7 separate regions of the Homo sapiens genome follow, and all the other regions are linked to region 3. Evidence: promoter capture Hi-C in 16 types of primary human blood cells and fetal thymus (Javierre and others, 2016). All regions are on one chromosome and are shown on one strand. Each heading gives the region's core, a stretch centred on a gene start or on the middle of the fragment in contact. The rest is flanking DNA. Distances are from core to core; before and after follow the strand shown. Region 1 overlaps AQR (aquarius intron-binding spliceosomal factor). Region 2 overlaps LOC105370764 (a long non-coding RNA gene). Region 3 holds the start of AVEN (apoptosis and caspase activation inhibitor). Region 4 overlaps AQR (aquarius intron-binding spliceosomal factor). Region 5 overlaps AQR (aquarius intron-binding spliceosomal factor). Region 6 overlaps AQR (aquarius intron-binding spliceosomal factor). Region 7 overlaps AQR (aquarius intron-binding spliceosomal factor).

Evidence for each region. The method cuts DNA at HindIII sites, captures the fragments that hold promoters and counts their contacts. A CHiCAGO score of 5 or more calls a contact.
Region 1: a fragment that was not itself captured here is called in contact with the fragment with the promoter of AVEN in region 3 in 1 of 17 cell types (total CD4 T cells); the score reaches 5.7 in total CD4 T cells.
Region 2: a contact is called between a fragment that was not itself captured here and the fragment with the promoter of AVEN in region 3, in 1 of 17 cell types (total CD8 T cells). The highest score is 5.0, in total CD8 T cells.
Region 4: a fragment that was not itself captured here is called in contact with the fragment with the promoter of AVEN in region 3 in 5 of 17 cell types (activated CD4 T cells, naive CD4 T cells, total CD4 T cells and 2 more); the score reaches 6.6 in activated CD4 T cells.
Region 5: a fragment that was not itself captured here is called in contact with the fragment with the promoter of AVEN in region 3 in 1 of 17 cell types (activated CD4 T cells); the score reaches 5.8 in activated CD4 T cells.
Region 6: a fragment that was not itself captured here is called in contact with the fragment with the promoter of AVEN in region 3 in 1 of 17 cell types (activated CD4 T cells); the score reaches 5.5 in activated CD4 T cells.
Region 7: a fragment that was not itself captured here is called in contact with the fragment with the promoter of AVEN in region 3 in 4 of 17 cell types (total CD8 T cells, activated CD4 T cells, total CD4 T cells and 1 more); the score reaches 7.8 in total CD8 T cells.

What each region holds. Positions count from the first base shown.
Region 1 is chr15:34,925,412-34,928,508 of GRCh38, forward strand. AQR (aquarius intron-binding spliceosomal factor) reads right to left here. Exons shown (of 35, transcript NM_014691.3): 13 at 1,624-1,727. Among named protein-coding and RNA genes, the nearest start is that of AQR, 43 kb to the right of the region's middle. RefSeq lists a silencer at 2,397-2,691. The HindIII fragment of the contact is 5,060 bases long and covers 1-3,097 here.
Region 2 is chr15:34,997,998-35,001,135 of GRCh38, forward strand. The region is part of intron 2 of LOC105370764 (a long non-coding RNA gene); the gene reads left to right. Among named protein-coding and RNA genes, the nearest start is that of ZNF770, 11 kb to the left of the region's middle. The HindIII fragment of the contact is 2,416 bases long and covers 397-2,812 here.
Region 3 is chr15:34,037,496-34,040,516 of GRCh38, forward strand. It overlaps AVEN (apoptosis and caspase activation inhibitor), which reads right to left and starts at 1,709. Exons shown (of 6, transcript NM_020371.3): 1 at 1,285-1,709. The coding sequence starts at 1,551. The region is part of intron 1 of CHRM5 (cholinergic receptor muscarinic 5); the gene reads left to right. RefSeq lists silencers at 682-741, 1,092-1,151, 1,242-1,451, 1,632-1,801. The HindIII fragment of the contact is 8,272 bases long and covers 1-3,021 here.
Region 4 is chr15:34,941,252-34,944,677 of GRCh38, forward strand. AQR (aquarius intron-binding spliceosomal factor) reads right to left here. Exons shown (of 35, transcript NM_014691.3): 6 at 3,037-3,177; 7 at 761-829. It also overlaps the pseudogene RPL36AP8. Among named protein-coding and RNA genes, the nearest start is that of AQR, 27 kb to the right of the region's middle. The HindIII fragment of the contact is 1,540 bases long and covers 1,366-2,905 here.
Region 5 is chr15:34,890,105-34,893,564 of GRCh38, forward strand. It overlaps AQR (aquarius intron-binding spliceosomal factor), which reads right to left. Exons shown (of 35, transcript NM_014691.3): 24 at 111-220. Among named protein-coding and RNA genes, the nearest start is that of AQR, 78 kb to the right of the region's middle. The HindIII fragment of the contact is 3,676 bases long and covers 1-3,217 here.
Region 6 is chr15:34,856,464-34,859,840 of GRCh38, forward strand. It overlaps AQR (aquarius intron-binding spliceosomal factor), which reads right to left. Exons shown (of 35, transcript NM_014691.3): 35 at 1-643. The coding sequence ends at 329. Among named protein-coding and RNA genes, the nearest start is that of ACTC1, 63 kb to the left of the region's middle. The HindIII fragment of the contact is 7,297 bases long and covers 1-3,377 here.
Region 7 is chr15:34,907,366-34,910,549 of GRCh38, forward strand. AQR (aquarius intron-binding spliceosomal factor) reads right to left here. Exons shown (of 35, transcript NM_014691.3): 17 at 2,770-2,948. Among named protein-coding and RNA genes, the nearest start is that of AQR, 61 kb to the right of the region's middle. The HindIII fragment of the contact is 730 bases long and covers 1,532-2,261 here.

The DNA.
Region 1 (3,097 bases), core at 64-2,563, 890 kb after region 3:
AGGAAATTTAGCAATATGTAACAAGTTTTAAACGCATGCCCCGTTTGAATCAGCCATTCTGCTTCTAGGAATCAGTACGAAAAGGATGCTCATTGCAGAACTGTTTGTAAAAGCCAAAACTTAAAAATTAAAGATTCACCAAAAGGAGGCCAGGAGCGGTGGCTCATGCCTCTAATCCCAGCTCTTTGGGAGGCCGAGGCAGGATCACCTGAGGTCAGGAGTTTGAGACCAGCCTGGCCAACATGGTGAAACCCCATCTTTGCTACTAAAAATTAGCTGGGCATGGTGGCGTGTGCCTGTAGTCCCAGCTATTCGGGAGGCTGACGCAGGAGAATCACTTGAACCCAGGAGGCAGAGGTTGCAGTGAGCCGAGATCGCACCACTGCACTCCAGCCTGGGCAATAGAGCAAGACTCCGTCTCAAAAAAAACAAAAAAAAAGACTCACCAATAGGAGATTAACTTTTAAAAAAATAAGGCCGGGCGCGGTGGCTCATGCCTGTAATCCCGGCACTTTGAGAGGCTGAGGCGGGCAGATCACGAGGTCAGAGATCGAGACCATCTTGGCTAACACGGTGAAACCCCGTCTCTACTAAAAATACAAAAAATTAGACGGGCGTGGTGGCGGGCGCCTGTAGTCCCAGCTACTCAGGAGGCTGAGGCAGGAGAATGGCGTGAACCCGGGAGGCGGAACTTGCAGTGAGCCACTGCAGTCTGGCCTGGGCGAAAGAGCGAGACTCCGTCTCAAAAAAATAAAATAAAATAAAAATAAATAAAAAAATAAAAAAATAGTATGCTGGTCCTGTTTAATGGAACTCTATGTAGTTATTTAAAATAATGAAATGAATCTATGTGTTATTAATTATATTAAATCCTCATATGAGAATGAACAACCAAACCAACCTCAGTTTATTACATTTTAAATAGTCAAGGAACTAAACATAATTTATCCCAAGAGCTGGGAGATGATACAGTATAGTAGTTAAAAGTTAGGGCTTGGAAATCACACTATCCGGGTTTAAATTGTATCTCTGCCACTTACTTGCTGTGTAACCTAGGCAAATTACTTAACTATTCTATGCCCCAGATACCTTATACGTAAAATGGTACCTACTTCTAGCATGAATGTTTTCAGAGTTGTTTACACACTTAACAGAACGTCTATCACATAGTAAATAAATGTATGCCATTATTATTACTATTTTCAAAAGGATATATTAGCAGATAGCTAACTGCCAGAGGATATTACTAATTTTATAAATTTTAAACATGCAAAAATTTCCCTAAGTCACACCTCTAATATCACACATAATGAATCTTTATTGGTTTTTGTCATATGTCGTTTATGACTGATGAGATTGACCAGCTTTATATTCTACTCTGAGAAAAATTTCAGATCGAAGAAAATTGTATACGTCATAAAAAACAGAAACTTTACCAAACGTGGGTAAGTGACAAAGACACCAAACTGCTGGAGAGAAGCACTAGTTGTAGACGTCAACGAAGAGTGAAATAACAAGTAATATTATCTAAAGTACTGCAAAATGATTAAAAGCAATAAAGAAAAGTAAAATTGAGGGAGCATGATACAAAAAAAGAATATATAGTTTTTCATGTTGTCTTACCTAAGAGGTCCAAAAAACTTGACCAAGGACTCCCGAGTATCTACTTCTGCCACATTTGAGAGGGCAAAATCATAGAGTTCAGGAAAATGTGCAAAAGCAGCTCTCTAGAAAATAATGGCAAAAAATATTAATAATTAATGTCTACATATTAATATAAACATCTACTATTTAAGAATGAAAATATTTTATAAAAATATTAACGCATTTCTGTCTCTTATATGCTTCTTTTATGTGACCTCTACCTTAATCAGACAGAAGCATATAATAAAAAGAGAAAAAACTACAACTGTCATAACAGAAATGTAAAAAACATAAAGTTGGCGTTCAGCTTTTGACATCTAAAAGGATTTTCAATATATACAAAATAGCCACAAAGGCTAGCTTTATTGACAGAAGAGGAGCAAAAAACAAATACACACTTGATTATCAAGAACTGGTCGAACAAGACTAAAAGAAAGTCCCAAGGGAAACTCTGGCTGCAGAGAACTTGGAAGGAGAGACCAAAAAACTTATGCTTGTGCCTTGCTTTTGTTTGGAACTCTGGGAAAAGACCTCACAGGGTAGCACTCTCAACCAACATAGGGTAAGCTGTAAGAAAACAGAAATAGTAGTATTGCACAGAGTGACTGAGATAATATCCCTAGTCTTCCTTGGGATTTAACAACAGAGTGATTGAAATAATATCCCTGTCTTCCTTGATGCCCACATGGCACAGAAAAGATCCGGAAGTTTTCATGTGTTCCATGGTGGATGACACAGAAGGTTGCCAAGGTTGCCATGAGTGAGCTTGCCATGGGATTATGAGATTACTACACACAATGGCAAAATGACTCTGCAACCCAAGCATGAGAATGAACTGTGTAAACAAGGAAATAAACAAGTCAGTCCTCAGGAGAATGCTAGCAGCATCAAGCAAAGTTAGGGCCTCCTCAACAGGGCAAATAGCCAAGTTCCTTGGAAGCAATAATGATGCCTTGCCTGTGTCAATACAATAGACCACATGCCACACCAGCTGTGGTTATTTCAAGGGCAGAGACAGGACAAAAACACTAATGCTCTGAAAAAAGCAGGAAAAGACATCTGCGTTAATCCTTCTTCCAAAACAATAAGGCTATTTTGGTGTCTCCACATACCTAGTAGGAAAGAAGAAAAACAGAGATTTTTTTTTTTCACTTTTTACACCATTATTTATTTATTTTTTCTTCTAAAAAAAATGGGATACATGTGGAAATGTGCAGGTTTGTTACATAGGTATACATGTGCCATGGTGGTTTGCTGCACCTATTGACCTGTCCTCTAAATTCCCTCCCCTCAACTCCCATCCCCGACAGGTACTGGTGTGTGTTGTTTCCTTCTCTGTGTCCATGTGTTCTCAATGTTCAACTCCTGCTTATGAGTGAGAACATGCGGTGTTTGGTTTTTTGTTCCTGTGTTAGTTTGCTGAGGATGATAACTTCCAGCTTCATCCGTGTCC
Region 2 (3,138 bases), core at 355-2,854, 960 kb after region 3:
AAAAAAAATTGCAAGGCCCAGCACAGTGGCTCACGCCTGTAATCTCAGCACTTTGGGAGGCCGAGATGGGCGGATTGCTTGAGGTCAGGAGTTCAAGACCAGCCTGGTTGACACAGTGAAACCTCGTCTCTACTAAAAATACAAAATTAGCCGGGCGTGGTGGTGCATGCCTGTAGTCCTAGCTACTCAGGAGGCTGAGGCAGAAGAATCACTTGAACCAGGGAGGCGGAGGTTGCAGTGAGCCGAGATCGCACCACTGCACCCTAGCCTAGGCAACAGAGCCAGACTCCTTCCTAAAAAAAATAAAAATTGCAAAGAAATCTCATAATGTTTTAAGAAAGTTTACAAATTTGTGTTGGACCACATTCATAGCTGTTTTGGTGCGTGGATTGAACAAGCTTGTTGTAGATGTTCCTTATCAGACTTAGAAAGCTGTCACGCTCTTAGTTAATTGTCTCCTGGATCAGGGAAAAGACCTAGAAAAGGAAGTAGATTCTCTACAGAATGTAGATTTCCCCCACAAGAGACAACTTTGTAGGGCCATTTCAAAATACATCAAAGAAATATATTTGGGGGTAAAATACTTCTATTTTTTTCAGGGCCTACCATCTGTCATGTTGGTATCTTATTGCTACAGTCTGTTTTGTCAGTCTTAAAGTCTCTGTTTTAATGTCAATGCTGGTCAGCTGTGCCTGAATTCCAGCGGGAGAAGAGTATGATGAGGCACGTCCAACTCCCCCTTCCTATCGTGGCCTTAACTAGTTTGGAGGTTAACTTTGGAACGCCCTTGGCTAAGATGAAGGATCCAGTCGGTTGGGGGGCTTAGAATTTTGTTTTTGGTTTACAGTTGCCTCCACAAACATTTATTGAGCACTATCATGTGCCAAGCAGAGAAACAAGAAAATCCTTGTTCTTACAGAGCCTATATTCTGATAGTGATGGTGGTGGGAAAGAGAAAATAAACAAGCAAACAATAAATAAGATAATTTCTAATGGTGAAAACGACTATTAAGACAGAGTGATGTGACAGAGAATATTGAGGTATGGTGGGCTTCTTTAGATTAAGTGGTCAGGGAGGAAGGTCTCTGAGGAGATGATGTTTAAGCTGAAATCTGAATAAAAAGAAAGAGCTGGTGACCGGAAGATCAATCAATGGGAAGAATGTTGCAGGCAGATGTTACAGCTGGTGCAAAGGCTCTTAGGCAGGAATCACCTCAGTGACTGAAGAATAGGTAGAAGGCCAATGGTGGCCAGGCGTGGTGGCTCAAGCCTGTAATCCCAGCACTTTGGGAGGCCAAGGCGTGCAATCACCTGAGGTCAGGAGTTCAAGACCAGCTTGGTCTCTACAAAAATACAAAACAAAAAAAAATTAGCTGGGCATGATGGCAGGTGCCTGTAATCCCAGTTACTTGGGAGGCTGAGGCAGTAGAATCACTTGAACCCGGGAGGCAGAGGTTGCAGTGAGCCAAGATCGTGCTATTGCACTCCAGCCTGAGCAACAGAGTAAGACTCCGTCTCCAAAAAAAAAAAAAAAAAAAAAAAAAAAAAGAAGGCCAGTGGCTCAGCAATGGTGAGCAAGGAGAAAGTGGTACAAAATGCAAGGAGCTCTGAGAAGTGGTAGGGGTCAGATCCTATGCAGTGTTGTAAACTACAGTAAAGAGTTTAGATTTTATTCTAAATGCAATGGGAAACATTTGGAAGACTTTAGGAAAGAAAAGTGGTCTGATTTATGTGTGTGGGTATATATAATATAATATATATATTATATATATTATATATATATTTTTTTCTAGAAACAAGATCTTGCTATGTTGTTCAGGGTGGAGTACAGTGGTGTGATTATAGCTCACTGCAGCCTCCAACTTCTGAGCTCGAGTGATCCTCCTGCCTCAGCCTCCGAGTTTCTAAGACTATAGGCACATGTCACCCACCACACATGGCCAGTTTTTAAATTTTTTTGTAGAGATGGGGTTTCGCTATGTGGCACAGGCTGGTCTTGAACTCCTGGCCTCAAGTGATCCTGCCTCCTTGGCCTCCCAGAGCTGTGGGATTACAGGCTTGAGTCATCGTGCCCAGCCTGATTCGTATTTTTAAATGAACCCTACTGCTGCCATGTTGGAGTTAGTTGAAGGAGTGTGGGGTTGTATTGTATCAGCTTGGCTAAACCGAAATTTTTTGTTTTGTTTTGTTTTGTTTTGTGTTTTTTTTTTTTGAGATGGAGTCTTGCTCTGTCACCAGGCTGGAATGCAGTGGTGTGATCTCGGCTCACTGCAACCTCCGCCTCCCTGGTTCAAGCGATTCTCCTGCCTCAGCCTCCTGAGTAGCTGGGACTACAGGCGCCCACCACCATGCCCAGCTAATTTTTGTATTTTTAGTAGAGACGGGGTTTCACCATGTTGGCCAGGATGGTCTCGATCTCTTGACCTCGCGATCCACCCGCCTCGGCCTCCCAAAGTGCTGGAATTGCAGGCATGAGCCACGGCGCCCGGCCTTTTATTTTTTTTCAAGAATTTCCTTTGCTACCTGACTCAGGATTAGCAAGCCTCATGGGAGGCATTTTGCATGGTATTTGAAAGGTGAGAAGGAAGCAGTAGCTTGTTTTTACACTTGGAAGGTCTGTGCAGGGCACAGGCACCCATCCCAGCTCACCCATGTTTTTGTAATCTGCTGACTCACCTTGCTGGCCTTGGGCAACATCCAGCCCACAGTTCCTTCAACTCCTGCCAGATGTTCTCCTTTAGCTTCTCCAAGTCCCGGGCCAGAAACATGTTTAGCTCCATGACTAAGGGCAGAACATTAGACTATCTGTGGAAGCTTGGAGTTACTGAGAGGTCTGTCCTTGTAGGTTCATGTTTCTCTTTCCAGATGCTAGTTGATCCTTATGTCTTCAGTTTGCATTCATCCTCCCTTCTAAGTACCAGCCCCAACCTCTGGCACCAGGCACATATAGTGTTTAATCAGCTCCCACAGTTTTCTAAGGTGAAAGTCCTACAATAAGTGTATATATATATATATATATATATCAATTTATTTATATTTTATATAAGTGTATTTATATATAATTTACAGTTAAAATTTTTATCAATATTTATATTTTAAATATATTTATATACGTAGATTTTCTATAAAATGTTATAT
Region 3 (3,021 bases), core at 459-2,958:
GTAGTTAATATATAATTACATACTATTATATTACATAATTCTACATTACATATATATTATATATATATAATAGAGTTATAAGAACAAAATGTGATATATAGTGGGCACTAGGTTGGTCTTAGTTTCTGTCATTTACCTTAGTTTCTGTCAGTTTACACGAGGTAAACTGACCCTAAAAATGTTTTTATATCTCATTCAAGTTTTGCCTATTACCTATCTTAATCCTAACAAGATTTAAGTTTGTTACATTTAAATTTAAGTTTTATACTTTTTTTTCCAGCTCTGTATTGCTGTATACAACTACTCTCTTTAGGGATATCTTATCTGCTATGCCCTCAAGATATTGTAAATACTTCAGTAAGAGCAAATTTTGCCTCATGCAAAAAAGAATTTTTTAAATCAGTGTGCATAAGAATGCAGAATATAAAGATGGTCTTGTCCTACAGATGTTAAGGTAACAGAACAACTCATAAAAAGACAGTCCTCTAACTCCTTTAGCTGAGATATGGTTAGCTTTGCCCCCATATATATCATCCCCTGCTCCAATCTCCAAAAACTTCCTTCTATGAATGTGTCAATAAGACTGATGATATTGCTATTAAAACTCAGAACTTGACTGCTCATTTATAAATTGAAAATTCAAAACGACAAAGCCCAGTGCTCGCTGATTTCTACACATACAGGCATAATAAAAGAGAACTACGCTATTACAAAGAACTATGCATCTGGTCCCGCCCCCAAATACTAGAGTCCAGTCGTAGGGGTCATTCTTTCACTCAACAAACTTTTTATTATGCGCCTACTGTGTACTAGGCATTGCACAGACAGTTAACAAAACAGACCAAAAAATCCTTTCCCTCCTAATAACAGGAGCGTGCCCGTAAAGGCTGCCGAGGGACCACGTCGTGGCCGCGCCTCCGTCCCATAGTGGTACTCGTACAGACAGCCCAGCCGGCCCACGGGCCGCCGAGACTTGCAGCCCTGACACACGGCCTTGGCCTCTGGGTTCCTAACCCGGACCCTGGGGCAGGCTGGGAAGCCCTCCTACCCCCACTGTCTCGCGCCAGCCCGGCCAGGAGGCCACGAGGGCCAAGCGCATACCCAGGCGCGCCCCCGCCACCAGGCGCGCCCCCGCGCCACCATCCGCCCGTCCCGCGCAGGCGCCGGCGCCGCCGCCCGTCTGGCGCGCGCCTGGCACGCTCTCTTGCGGCTCTTGACTGGCGGCCTCGGCCCCACTTGCCCCAGTTACACGCGGTCCCAGCCCCACCAGCCGTCGCCTCTTACCGGCGCGCTGGCCCCTGCGCCCCAGCCTCCCGGCTCCCGGCGGCTGCCTCGCGGGGCGCCTCCTCCTCCTCGGCCTCCGCGAGCGCCGCGGAAGCCCCGGCCACGGCCACGGCCCCGGCGTCCGCCTCCGTCCCCGCCGCCGCCTCCGCCGCCGCCTCTGGCTACCGCCGCTGCGGCTCCGGGCCGCTCGCTGTGGCGATCTCCGCCAGGCCGGCCGCGGCCTGGCCGCCGCCCACGGCCTCCCCGAGCTCCTCGCTCCGCCTGCATCTGGCCGCCGCTGGCGGTGCTGAGCGCGCGGGAGCCGAGCTGCGGCGGAGACGCCCTGGCCCCACCGGAAGCGGGCCGCACGGAGGAGCCGCGAGCGAAAGGCGCCCGGTAGCAGCGAGGCGCGGGGTGCGGGGCTAGGGATCGAGGCCGGCCGCAGCGGAGCGGGGCGGGGCGGGGCGGCCGGCGTCCCGCAGGTGGGGCCGGAACCGGGACCGCGGGAAGGCCGGACCGCTGGGAGCTGGAAGTGGTGGGGGTCTGCAGCGGGGCGGGGGGATTCTCAAGGCATCAGAGATAGGTTGGGGGAGAGACCGTGCTAAGTGCAAGGACGAGTCATAAAATAAAATTTGTATGATGTGAACTCTCGGAAAAAAAAAGTTTAAACGTATGTATTTGCATAAGAAAAGGTCTAAACAAATACATACTAAAATGTTAGTGGTTAACTGCTGAGATTTGAAGTGAGTTAATTTTTTTTCCTCCGTTTAATCTAATTTTCAGCAACGAATGTGTATCATTTTAAAACTATACCGAAGTCAGGGTTCAGGAGGTGTGGATGTAAAGACAAGAGTTTGTGTCTGGTGAGAGGTGGACTGCAGCACGTGGGAGAGAGAACAGTGCGAAACTGGGAGATGGCTAGAAAGGGCGTCAAAGTCCTCAGCAGAATTTCTGTAGAAATGACTACTACAGCTGACATTTATTGAGCACATGAGTATTTCATTCTCATAACAGCTCTATGAGGTAGGGATGACTGTCATCCTTATTCTGCAGTGAGGTAACAGCCTTGGAAAGGTTAAAAAAAACTTGACTAAAGTGAATAACTAGGTAGTGGTGGAACTGGCATTCTAAGGCGGTCTCACTCCAGTCCCTTCTTTCAACCAAGGAGAAAACAGGAAGGGGAACAGTTGGTTACACAGATGCATGAAAGCAGTTTTTAACTTGGGACTGAAACCACCTGAAAATAATGAAAGCAAGGGCTAAAATGTCAGCCTAGCAGAATAAGTGTTTTCTTCCCCCTCAGTACTTTCTGGTTCTTTCCTATATCCATACATAGTTAATACTTTTCATTGCTTCTAATTGCCTACTCTGCATCAGGCACAGTGCTATGTCCTGAAATTAAAAACAAAAACAAAAAAAAAACCTTGCCCCTGCCCTCAAGTAGCTCACTGCCCACAAGGAAGATAATCTAGTCGTGTGAATAGATGATTACAGTACCGTGTTGCTGAGTGCAGTGAGAGATTCAAGATCAAGGTCCAAAGAAGAAAAGTTAAATTATATTTAAACGGGTTACCCAAGGCTTCATGAGAAATAGACCCCTGAGCTAAAGCCTAATGGTTGAGTAGGAGTTTGCCTGGTTGGTAAATGGGAGTAGGGGCGCCTTCCAGACAGGGGGAACTATTGAAGGATTGTCAACTCCAGAGAAACAGTCTTAAAAATAGTAACACTTGTAGAGCACTTATATGCACCAAACACTAT
Region 4 (3,426 bases), core at 886-3,385, 900 kb after region 3:
TCAAAACTTAAAGAGCTAAGTCTGAAAAATATATGCATCAACACTTAGCATAATCACTAAGGTTTGAAAAATATGAGTCTGAAACAATGCACAAAAAACAGCGATCACAAGTAAATAAGGAAATGTCCACATCAGCATATTCTCTCTTATAGCACTTGCCACTTTTTAACTTAGTATTAATTATTTATACGTGCCTTATGTTTTCATCCCCATCAACTGGTGCTTATAAATGAGTCTGCATATCTGAGTATATGCAGAAACACCCATGTGCAGGAAGGGAAATTCTGAATAAAGCATTACAATGAAATCTGATAGTTTTAACTAAACTACCTAAGATGTATTAATTTGGCTTTGGTACCTGCACATATTACCCAATAAAGACTTTATGGAAAAATGGAAGTCATTAATATTAGGTATGATCCAGATCTTCTCCTACAGCTATATATATACTCTAATCAAGGAAAAAAAAATTCAAGTCCACATTTAGTCTCATCTATACTTTGCTAAATTAACCCCCTTTCTCTATAAGCTCAATAGATACTACCTTATTCATTTTATATTACTAAAATTAAGTTAAACATCGAATGCATATAAAAACTTTAAAATAAAAACTATATCTATGAAAAGTTAAGCAAAGTGGCTTTTCTAAGAAAAGGGGTATTTAGCTACCACTTGTATATCCAGATTAAGGCTATAGACTAAAACCACACGTTCTACTTATAACACATACATTCATAAGACTCTGAAATTAGAGACTTACCAGCTGTAAGCCCATCCACATTGGGAGGGAGATAAGCTGCTGTACTTGACTTCGTATCAAGTCTACTTCCTGTTTAGGGCATGAAGAAAATAAGTTTATAAACATACCAGCATTTCTACCTAAGTCTTTACATAAGAAGTATACTGCCTTTTTAAGTCCTGGAGGGAAAACATGCCACAAATATTTTCAAGTTAATATTTTGATATTAAGAAGTTCAATGCTTTAAAAAAGACTCCATCCTTATTATCTACAGATTTTGTACTTGCAAATTCATATACTAATAAAAATGTATTTGTAACCCCAAAATCAACACTCCATGTGCTTTCACAGTCATCCAGATGGCCCAAACAAAAATCTGAGTTGTCCGACGTGCACATTCTCAGGTGAGACTGAGCTGATGCTCTGCTTCATTCTCAGCTCTCATACTGTAAGAAACAAGTATCCTTTTTGTGGTCTATTGAGTACTATTTTTTTTGGCACGCTTGTGCTTTTTGATGATTTCGCTGTTTAAAATGGCAACAAGCCCAAGGCTGAAGTGCTGTCTGATGTTCATGGGTGCAAGAAGGCTGTGATATGTCTTACAGAGTAAATACGTATGTTAGATAAGCTTCGTTCAGGCATAATTACAGTGCTGTTGGCAGTGAGTTCATGGTTAATGAATCAATAATATACAATAAATAAGCTGTCTTTAAATAGAAACACACATAAAATAAGGCTATGTATTGATAGTTTGTAAAATGTCATGACCAAGGCTTGCAGGAACCTAACCCTGTATTTCCCCAAGGAGTAATGGTTCAGCATTAGCTCATTCAATGTTCATAGCTACTTTATAAAATGAACATAACTACCTCAAATAAGAACTGACTGCATATTTTAAAAGATAAAGCATTTCAATAATAAACTAGTTTGGTAAGTTGGCTAAAACTATCACCAAATTACTAATACTAATAAAATCTTGTTTCTGTTTAGTTTCTGATAAAAAAATCACATCTATTTATATTTCTATTTGTTCTGTTTAGTTTAATAAATGTTAAAGAGGCTTTCTGTGCCGATAACGCTCACGCAAGCATGGTTAACGTCCCTAAAACCCGCCGGACTTTCTGTAAGAAGTGTGGCAAGCACCAACCCCATAAAGTGACACAGTACAAGAAGGGCAAGGATTCTCTGTATGCCCAGGGAAAGCGGCGTTATGACAGGAAGCAGAGTGGCTATGGTGGGCAAACTAAGCCAATTTTCTGGAAAAAGGCTAAAACTACAAAGATTGTGCTAAGGCTTGAGTGCATTGAGCCCAACTGCAGATCTAAGAGAATGCTGGCTATTAAAAGATGCAAGCATTTTGAACTGGGAGGAGATAAGAAGAGAAAGGGCCAAGTGATTCAGTTCTAAGTGTCATCTTTTATTATGAAGACAATAAAATCTTGAGTTTATGTTCAAAATAAATAAATAAATAAATAAATAAATAAATAAATAAAAATAAATGTTAAAGAGATAACAGTGGTATCCAGTGCAGGCATCATAAATCTTTTTTTATGCCTTTAAAAGATCCATGTGAGATAGTACATGGAAACAGGTAATAATCATCCATCTATTAACACTCAGTCTTCAGAATAAGAAAGAACTCCATGCATTCCTCCTGCATGGGTGTAAGTGAATTATCAATTCAGAGGCACTAAATAAATATGTGTATTTATCAGCTAACCACACAGGAAAGCTCAAATAAAATATTACTGAAAATATTTAATTTTTTAGAAGATAATCTTATGAAGGATGAAAATGTATCACACACAAGACATTTTCAAAGATCATTTACACTTGGCCTTTATCAGTCAACTCAAAATACAACTCTCCTGTTGACTAACCAGCCTATGCATAAGGCATGATGAAAAGCAATGAAACTACATTCCTGTATGTATATGCAGTTTGTGGCACAGATCTCATTACTCCAATTCCATATAACCAGTCTCCTTGCTGCTTCTCATTTTTGTGCTCTCCCTTTAGAGTTTCAGTTCTTATAATCATTTTTCTTAAGAGTCTAGATAGAAAAAATTAAGTATCAATTTCAAATCTATTAAAAAGTGAACATATCTTATAAAAACATATCTTAAAGACTTATAAAATGGTTTTACTGATAAGTGGCTGAAATCAAGCTTTTAGCATTATCCTTATTGCCTGCTATTATGGATGAATGGAGTTGGCTACAGAGGTAATTTCATCTAAACTCAACCTAAAAGAACAAGAAAACTTGAAAATTACCCCAAAATATAAAGTAAAAGTACCAAACTATTGAAGCAATGATCAAGAAAAAGTAGTAAGACTGTCTGTTCATGAAGTGAAAATTCACCATCAGTTTCAGCTAATGCCGCCTTCAAGATGTGTTTAAAAAAGAATGGGAAGTGGTCTGGCTTCTTCTTAAAAATCTGAAAAGAAACAGAATAAAATTCATTTTGTATTGGCTTGCTCACTTAAGCTTTAAAGAAGCCCTAGTAGGCTTTTTAGCAGTCTATTAAAAAAACCAAATAATTACAAAAGGGTTATTTGTATATGTATAAAAGAAGCATCACGTGCTTACTTATAATTAATGGCAAGTCAAATACAGGTTTCTGACAGGACTATGAGAGAGCTGCAGAACCCTTTAGCTAATAAAATAATGGCTTTCATTTCTTTAG
Region 5 (3,460 bases), core at 130-2,629, 850 kb after region 3:
CCTTTCAGAATTAAGTTTCAGTATTCATTGCTTTCTTCTTCTTTAATAAAAGAAATGAAAAGAAAATAAAAAATCCTTTTTTACACTGTTACTCACTCCCATTTGCTCACCTGCTGAAATCTTTCTCTGTCTCCAGCTCTTCTTCTCCATGACCAAGACGCAGTAGGTGGCGCTCATCAATGTCTAATGCCATGATTTTCTCAAACAACTGGTTTAGGGCCTAGACAATAAAGCAAGAAGGGTGACGGCACCTTTAAACGTAGCAAAAACTAACATTTAGAAAGAATCAAAGTTGAAACACAGAAGGAAATCAGCCTTATATTAGGCCATTTATAATTTAATCAAATAGTATTTATATTGATTTCTGATATTGCCATCTATGTCTATTTGGCTGTATGGATAACTAGAAACCATAAAACCACCCACCTATTAAACATCTGCTTTTAATTTATGAAACGAGAAAGGCATTGGCTCAGATGCTATTTCTTCCGAGTTGTAACAACTCCTAAAATAAACAACCACACTGAGTTTCATTTCATTCAACAGCATTTCCTTGGGTTACAGAGAACTGAAAAAGTTTTTGCAGTTGGAGAAAGACAATAAGAAGGCAGTGAGTGTGTTGGTAGAATACATTAAGAGGACCAGAAGGTGGAAACATAAATTGCATCTTTCAAATCTTAGTCTGAAAGTCTAATGTTCTCAATATAATAAAGAGCAGAGCACTCATTTATTGCAAACTATTCTGATGAAAGTCATTTAAAAGTCACTACTTTCTATCTGTGAAATGTTCATAATTAGGGTTCCCTCGAATCCTAGTATTCATTATCTGAACTTCCGCAGTTACAAGGTTTTACAGAAAGGCAAAAGTTTCATAGTATGGAAAGACTCACTAATTAAGGTACTATTTAAAAATAAGCCGCCATTCAAACATCTCACTTTCACTAGTCCAACCCTGCCTGTGAAGTCAGCATCCAGTCTTATAAACACCTAGGTTATATAATGTAGATACAGATATCCTTTACCATCAAAATTCTAGCAATCTGAGCTCTGAAACTGAAGAGATTTAACATAAATTTTCAGAAAAATCCCCCACTATCCAAACTCTTGATACTCATCATCCAAAACTCAGTACCCAACAGAGCAGATTACATGGTGTTACTCACTATCCAAACCTTCACTATTCAAACTCAAGAACCACATAGATTGAATAAAAGTAAAAACAAAAAACAAAACCCCCACAAACTTGCACACTATAATCCCAGAAAAAACTACATGATTTCATTGTGAATTACAGTGATTTTGAAGAACTACTTGAATTATACATGCAAATGAAGATCTGGCAAACAAAACAGTTAACTGAAGGAAAACAATCAATTCGATGGGCATCAAGGGAAATGATTTGAATTTCAAAAAACCAAGGCAGGTGTTTAGCAAGCAGTGAATTATGTGTCTATTTTTGCAAATTAATCTTTTCAATGATTGTGCTATACAAATCAATCATAAAGTAGAGGATAACTGTAGAAAGCCATATCAAGGTATGACAAAACAGTAAAAAATATGTTAAAACAACACATGAATTATTCTGTTCATTTTAAGAATTTACAATAGGTTTTTACAGAACAAATTTTATAAACAGAAGAAAAAAACTTCTTTTCATAATTTGTTTCTTTTATCAAGACAAAGTCCAAATTGATCCCCCTTCAACTCCCACAAATTCAGTATATTAGATGCATTATGTCCAATATGTTATGTAATATGTTATTATATAATTATGTATAACATATATTCAGTATATTGGATAAGTTTACTATTTATAAACTTCAAAATATATAAAAATATGTCAGGCAAATGAACTGAAGAGTATTATTTTTAAAACTTTACAAATTAAAAGTTAATGATCACCAGAGTAACTGATATTTGGCATTCCAAAAACACAGTGCTTCTGTATATACCAACTCAAAGACTGGTCAACTGAAGTCACCACTGTTAACATAAACTCCGAGAAAAAACTTTCAGAGGTTTTGACTACCATGCAAATTTCATAATATGCTTCAGGATGTTCTCAGAGTTGCCTGTCTCATTTTATACCAGATCTAATAAATGTTACTTGTTCTTCCCTCATTTCTGACAGCTTCAGAATGACTAAAGTAGAATACAGTCCCTTCATGTAATACAGGTGTACATTTCACATGGATTTGAAATTTAATCCAGTATCAATGCACTTTAGACCTTAGTCTTTCAGGAATATTCATTCTACTAAATGAAGAAAAATGCTCCCAGTAAGGGTTAATGCTTATAATCTCCAAGTAAAAGTTCTAGTTTAGTGTAGAAGGAAAAAATAGCAATTTAATTTAATCCAAATATCTAACCATATATCCAAATAGTCTTAGCTTTTTCACATTGACCCTCTCCAGTAGAAATAAAAGATTGCTTTTATATATCTCTCAATGTCATCTCATTATAAGCAGTGATAATCCAAGAGTAGCTCAATAGCAGATACTCCTCAACTTACAATGGGGTTACATTCCAATAAATCTATCATAAGTTGAAAATATCCTAAGTTGAAAACACATTTAACACACCTAACCTACTGAACACCATAGCTTAGCCTAGCCTATGTAAAACATGCTCAGAACACATATATTAGCTTATACCTGGGAAAAATCATCTAACACAATGTGCCTATTTTATACTGAAATGTTGACTATCTCATATAATTTATTGAATAGCGAAATAAGAGTGATAAACAGAATGGTTGTATGGGTACTTGAAGTACAATTTCTGCTGAATTCATATTGCTTTCACACCATCATAAAGTCAAAATATTACAGGTCAGAATAAAAGTCAAACCAAAAGTCAGGGACCATCTATACTAATTAGCCTTTCCTGGTATTTTGTGGTACCTATGATCAGATTTTCATACAAGGATAAATCATCTATTAATACATTCATTTCATGAATCCTCTGCTCCTTCCTTATGTTAGGAACAAGTGCTCAATGCTGCAAGGAAGAACCAGCACTCAGACAAAAAGTTTTCTCAGCAAGGCAATTTACTTCTGCAGGTGGGTGCTACCTGCGTCAGTCACGTTTGCCAAGAGCACACCGAACAAAGGAGAGAAGGGTTTCTATCCCTAATGCAGCCCCTGTATCTGTGTCCTTTCCCCATTGGCTGGAGTAAGACCGCACAATATAAACTACCCCGATTGGCTAAAACTTAAGCTTTTCTAAATATGGTCACTGCGTGATGGGGAAGCAAGGGAGAGGAGGGGGTCCTCACGGGAAACCAGGAGCTAATGCATTCCCAAATAAGGGAAGGAATGTGAGCCACAAACCAGCTGAGACTTAGGCATGCCAGAATATATTAGGGAACAGGTAGGCCAGGCTCAGAAAAATGGAGAACAAAGAATAATGAAACTAGATTTCTTGAAGAGGAACTTATTGTGTCCCACACTTACCTCCC
Region 6 (3,377 bases), core at 843-3,342, 820 kb after region 3:
CTTCTTTAGAGAAGTTCACTAAAAATGTGAAGTATATATTATATATTCATAGAAAATGATTTTAATGTAGGTATGATTACAGACACACTCAGTGATCAAAACATGAAAGGAATGGTTATTTGCTCTTCTGATTGAACAAATGAAACTAGAATTGTTCATACACATAATTTAAAAAAATATATTCAAGACACCGAAATCAGTTAACAAATATAAGAACTAAACATTAATTAGTGACAGTAAAATGGCAGAAGCAAATATAAAATACAAAAAACAGCTTTACTCAGACTTTTTGACTGCCATGTCCTCCTTTAGAAGGACTACAGTTTGGCTACTTGGTCTCTTCCGGGGCAGATGTGGCATCCTGAGGTGTGTTAGCTTCTGCCGGTGCAGATACAGCTCCTACCACAGTAGGGGTGGTCTCAGATAAAGCAGGGATGGCTTCTGGAGTGGAAGTGGCTCCTGTCTCACTGGGGGTGGTGTCAGTTTGAAAGGCTGGAGTTTCTTGACGGCAGCTGGTGTCTGTTGGACTGGGTATGATGTCAGCTTGAACAGTCATGGCCTCTTCTTCTGTTTCCAATTCTGTTTCTTGATTTTGAACTTCCTCACCCTCTTCTACCATAGCAGGTGGTAGTTGTAATAAAGTCTAATTAAAAAAAAAAAAACAAAGACAATACCAATATGAAAAACAGCTTATAAAGCTAAGCTCTCACATTACCATTCTAGAGTTCTCCAAAACAGTGCTGACCATTTTATACTCCAGATGTAACACCTCTGATGACAATGGTCTAGGTTCTGCTAACACCAAGGAATATGCCTACACAGATGTCATATACTGATAATCAAAATACATATAAAATCTTCAGAGAGGAAAACAACCATGAAAAGCTATTAGATTTTTAAGCAACATACTTTGCTGTCAACATTTCTGCAAAAAACAGTGACTGATCAGGACTGATTATAAAACTAACTCAAGAAAGGGTCAACTTTAATCAAAGAGCCCTGTGAGCTGGGTGCGGTGGCTCATGGTGGCATTCCCGGCACTTTGGGAGGCCAAGGCAGGCGGATCACTTGAGGCCAGGAGTTCGAGACTAGCCTGGCCAACATGGTGAAACCCCATCTCTACTAAAAAACACAAAAATTAGCTGAGCGTGGTGGCAGGAGCCTGTAATCCCATCTACTCAGGATGCTGAGGCAGGAGAATCACTTGACCCTGTGAGTTGGAGGTTGCAGTGAGTTGAGATTGTGTCACTGCACTCCAGCCTGGGTGACAGAGAGAGATTCTGTCTCAAGAAAAAGAAAAAGAAAAGAAAAAGAGCCCTGTGAGAGGCAGAGAGGAGCCTGGCCTTAAGGCAAAGCCATGGGAGAAGGGAGCAGCAAGGAACAAGGTTTCTGTTCCGTTCAACCAGAAAACTGGAGCAACTCTATATGCTTAGCTTGCCCTTTGCCCCATGGCAGTCTAGTGACTTTCTCATCAGGGACTCTGCTTACAATGCTGGAAATTGAATGAATGAATTGATTGATCGATTGATTGATTGACTGAGACAGAGTCCCACTCTGTCGCCCAAGCTGGAGTGCAGTGGTGCCATCTTGGCTCACTGCAACCTCCGTCTCCCAGGTTCAAGCGATTCTCCTGCCTCAGCCTCCCAAGTAGCTGGGATTACAGACATGTACCACCATGCCTGGCTAATTTTTGTATTTTTAGTAGAGACGGGGTTTCACCATGTTGGCCAGGCTGGTCTCGAACTCCTGACCGCAGGTGATCCACCTACCTCAGCCTCCCAAAGTGCTAGGATTACAGGCATAAGCCACCGCGCCTGGCCTTTAAGATTTTTAAAAAGTACCGTGCACGACAGCAGCAAAAAAAAAAAAAAAAAAAAAGAAAACGAAAAAGAAAAATACTTAGCAAAATGTTAACAAAATATGTGTAAGGTTTGTATGTTGAAAACTACAAAATCCTGATGAGAATTTAAAGAAGATCTAAATAAACGAGAGATCTTATTCATGGATAGGAAGACTTAATATGTGAAGATGTTAATCTCCCCAAATAGATCCTAAACAATCCTCCTCTTCAAAATATCCTTTTAAAAACTGCAGCATGCTTTTGGGGGTAGAAACTGACCTGCTGATTGTAAAATGTATACAGAAAAGCAAAGGAACTGGGATAGCTAAGACAATTTCTAAAATGAAGAACAAAGCTAAAGGACTTATGTTATCTAATTTCCAGACTGACTGTAAAGCTACTATAATCAAGGTAGTACAGTCATGGCAAAGGGACGGATATACAGAATAATGGAACAGAATAGAAAGCCCAGACTCTCACATATATAGTCAATTGATATTTTGACTAAGATGACAAGCAAGTCAACAAAGAAAAAAATCGCCTATTAGGGAAGTGGTGCTCAAACAACTGCATATCCACAGACAAATGAATAAAACTCAGTCCTACCTGTATCATATAAAAATTAACTCAAAATGCATCATACCTAAGTATCCAACCTAAAACTCTGCAACTTCTAGAAAAAACCTTTATACCTCTGAGTTAGGCTATGTATTTTTAGGACATAAAAAGCATGAATCATAAAAGAACACTTTGATACATTGAACTTCATCAAAATTTAAAACTTTTGCTCTTTGAAAGACACTTACAAAATAAATAAACAAGCCAGAATGGGAGAAAATATTTGTAAAATACATATCAGATAAAGGACTTGTAGCCAGAATAAATAAAAACCTCTCAAAACTTAATAAAATATACAGCCTAATAAAAAAATGAGCAGGAAACCTGAGCAGACACATCCCCAAAGATATACAGATGGCAAATGACCACATGAAAAGATGCTCATCATCAGTCCTTAGGGAAATGAAAACCAAAACCATACTGAGACCACTGTATATCTATTAGAACTGCCAAAATTTTAAAAAGACGTACCATATCAAGTGAGGGTGAGGATGTGTAGCAACTAGAACTCTCACACTGCTGCTGAGAGTGTAAAGTGGTTCAACCACTTTGAAAAACAGGTTGGTAGCTTCTTAAAAAGTTAAACACATCCTTAACATAAATTCAGCCATTCCACTCTTAGGTATCTACCCAAGATAAAGTACAAAGACTTGTATAAGCAATAGTAGCCAGAAAAAATAAGAATACATACTGTATGCTTCCATTTATATAAAAATCTAGAAAATAGAAGCAAACCTATCATGACAGAAAGCAGATCCTTGGCTGCCTGGGAAGGTAAAAAGGGGACTGGTGAAGGGCAAGGAGGGATTACAAATGGGCACAAGGGAAAACTCTTGGGATAATGGATATGCTCTTTATCTTGACTGTGCTGATGGCTTCACAGGTAAATACCTATGCCAGAACATATAAAATTTTACAC
Region 7 (3,184 bases), core at 647-3,146, 870 kb after region 3:
TCTATTAAAAGTAGAGAAACTGGAAGACAAGGATTATAAAATTAGACCTCACAGCATGTAATGCTACACCACTTAATCTTCATTCCATTTCTGATGTTTTTGTTAGCCATTACATGACATAAATGTAAATGTAAACAGTCTGCTTGCTCACAACCTTGTTAACAACAAACACAATGAAATCAAATCAACAATGTGGGCATATGGCTAATAGTACTGAAAATATTTTGGTTTGTTTTAATTGGGGGACTGGTTAGAGTATGGGTAAAGGTAGAAATAATAACTCTATTCATAATACTGACTTAATTATTTCCCAATAAATTCTATGCAAAGCAGCAAGAGAAGTAATGAGAATGAATGGGAATCATCCTACTCTCTGAGTTGTACTACCTGTGTGATGTCTGATCTGCACAGCTCATTAAAACTTCTAAGTCTTACAGCCAAAGAAGTGGTCCTGAGAAGTCATTTATCCTCTCCCAAGATAGGAGTTACTTTTTGGCATCACTGAGGGATGACCTCTTGTTCCTTCCTAAAACAAACCACTTTACTCTGGGACATCTTAGATCCACATTTTTTAAAATCCTATATGTCTCTCTCCTTGCAACCATTTGTATCCACCCTATCCTAGCTGTGCTTTCTGGAGCAAATCTGGCATTTCCATTTCATGAATTCTGTTTCCTTAACTTTAAATGAGAATATTGAAGAAGATAAGGGCTTGAGGTTCACACCTTTTCAAAGGGACAAAAGGAATGTTTTATGGTATTTAGTTTAATAATCTTTAAAATTTACTTTTATAAAACAATATTCAGCTGGGCACGGTGGCTCACGCCTGTAATCCCAGCACTTTAGGAAGCTGAGGCAGGTGGATCACAAGACCAGCCTGGCCAAGATGGTGAAACCCCGTCTCTACTAAAAATACAAAAAATTAGCTGGGCGTGGTGGCGGGTGCCTGTAATCCCAGCTACTCGGGAGGCTGAGGCAGAGAATTGTTTGAACCCAGGAGGTGGAGGTTGCAGTGAGCCGAGATTGTGCCACTGCCCTCCAGACTGGGCGACAGAGTGAGACTCCGTCTAAAAAAAAAAAAAATGTATTATTGTTTACAGAATCTCTCCTTTTTACTCCATTTTCTATTTGGCTACCCTATCTGTGATCAATATAGGGGCTGGTTTTTGGCCCAGGCCTCCCATAAAACACTTTTCTCTCCATCATACCCCAGATTATCACTCATCCCACAATACCCTATTGTGCCCTATCTTGCCCATCAAAATGTACCCTGTCCAGTTCTCATTCTACCAGAGGCTGATGTTTAAAAGAAAAAAAGACTGTCTCATGTCCTTCTGAAAGCAGTCAGTAATGGGGGAAGTGGCCTGTTTTTAAACATCCTTTTGTTTTCCTTAACACCAAAATGCAGACCTCTCATCTATAAATTCCTATAGAGTCCTTTAAAATAAACAAAATTCCAACTATCTACTACTTCTGGGGGTACCCAGTAAGTTATCTCAGTTTATTACCCACAGTGTTTAATATCTCCTTAAGCTTCAAGGAATAATAAATATGAGACCTTCTCCAGCAACTTAATGGCTTTCTCGAGGCTCAGCAATAATAAAGGTGCACATTAGTCTAGATGAGTAATATACCAGGATGGAACTCTTTTGAAGGATACAAGGGTTATAAAACAATCTGTCATAAACTATACCCGCTACAGTAGGCATTTGTTAAACATTTGGCTAGCTTTGTTGCTGGATTCCTTCAGAATTCTTTGATATAGTTCCCATGATTATAAACAGCTACACTGGTAGTAATAATTTCTGAAAACAGATCCATTAAGGGACATCCTTTCCTTCTGGCATGCCAAGAAGGTAAAAGGAGGTAAAACCTACTGACTACTGTTTCTCAAAACAGGGCTTTAAGTAAGACCTCTCACAGGACAGCTGGGAGAAAAATATAAAACTGCCTATTAGAAATCAGTTCATATGTCACTTCTGGCAGAGGTCTTATTGATGTTTTAACTCTATTGGACTTAGTAATTTTGAACATATCTGCCTCCAAAACAAATTAATTTTGACATGGAACTCTAATCCTTAAAATCTTGCCTAGCAAAAATAGGAGGAATAACTCCTTTAATTTCTTTGCAATTATTATATATCCTTGACTACATTTGACTTCACTGACTCTTTATCCTTTCTGCCTTAGGCGCAAATAAACTATTATTTATTTCTGAATTGTTTCACTATAGCCCTGCCCACCCCCACATATTCTTTTTAAGCTTGCCTAATTTTTATTTTCCACAAAGTGTATGTATTTCTATTTTTTTCACCTTGGCTACTTTTATCTTTTGAAAAATACCAATTTTCCTTACTGCTCTGCATGTTTGTATGTTATATGTGGGCTTTCTCCCTGCTCTTTGGTGAACACTAATATTTTTATTCTTTTATATTGATGCCAGAAATCCATAAATATTATTTTGCTAAATTTAAGACTTAAAATGCTCTCCTCTAGGCTTTGCAAACTTCAGTTTTCAAAACGTTGATATGTATGCAATTTTATACTTTTTATTAAAGTATTAAGATACCTAAATATTCTTGTATGATCCCTGGTATTTTTAAAACTAATAATTAGAAAAAAAGTTGCTATTCTTTAAATCAAATTTCAAGGATAACGCTTAATAAAAGCTTTAAAGGATAACATTTAGTAAAAGTACTTTGTTAATGCTCTAAGTGAAAGTTCATAACAAGGCAAAAGGTAATGTCACTTTTTGAAATACAAACTTACCTTCCCATTCATCTTTGATGTGATCTCTGACATTGAGATTTATGGTAACATCTGCACGAACTCGGGTTGGCCAGTTTTCACCTATGTTGGGTTTGGCCACTTCAACGACAGTGAAAGCCACAATGGGCTGGGCCATTCGCGCCCAACCACCAAACACTACACCGCCATATTCAGATTGCCTGAAACCAAAGAAATGGATGATTACTCAAACAAAAAATAATTTATCCCCAACTTTTAGACAAGTTAAAACTAGTAAGTAGGAATACTGTTCAGCTAGTATTTAAGTCCTAATATTAGTAACTCTTATTTCTTAACTTAAAAAAAAGAAAACCTTTAACTCTCAAAGTATGCAAAGTATATAAGATAGCATGAAACAGGGATATGATAGCATGAAACAGGCAAACATGGTCCAGAA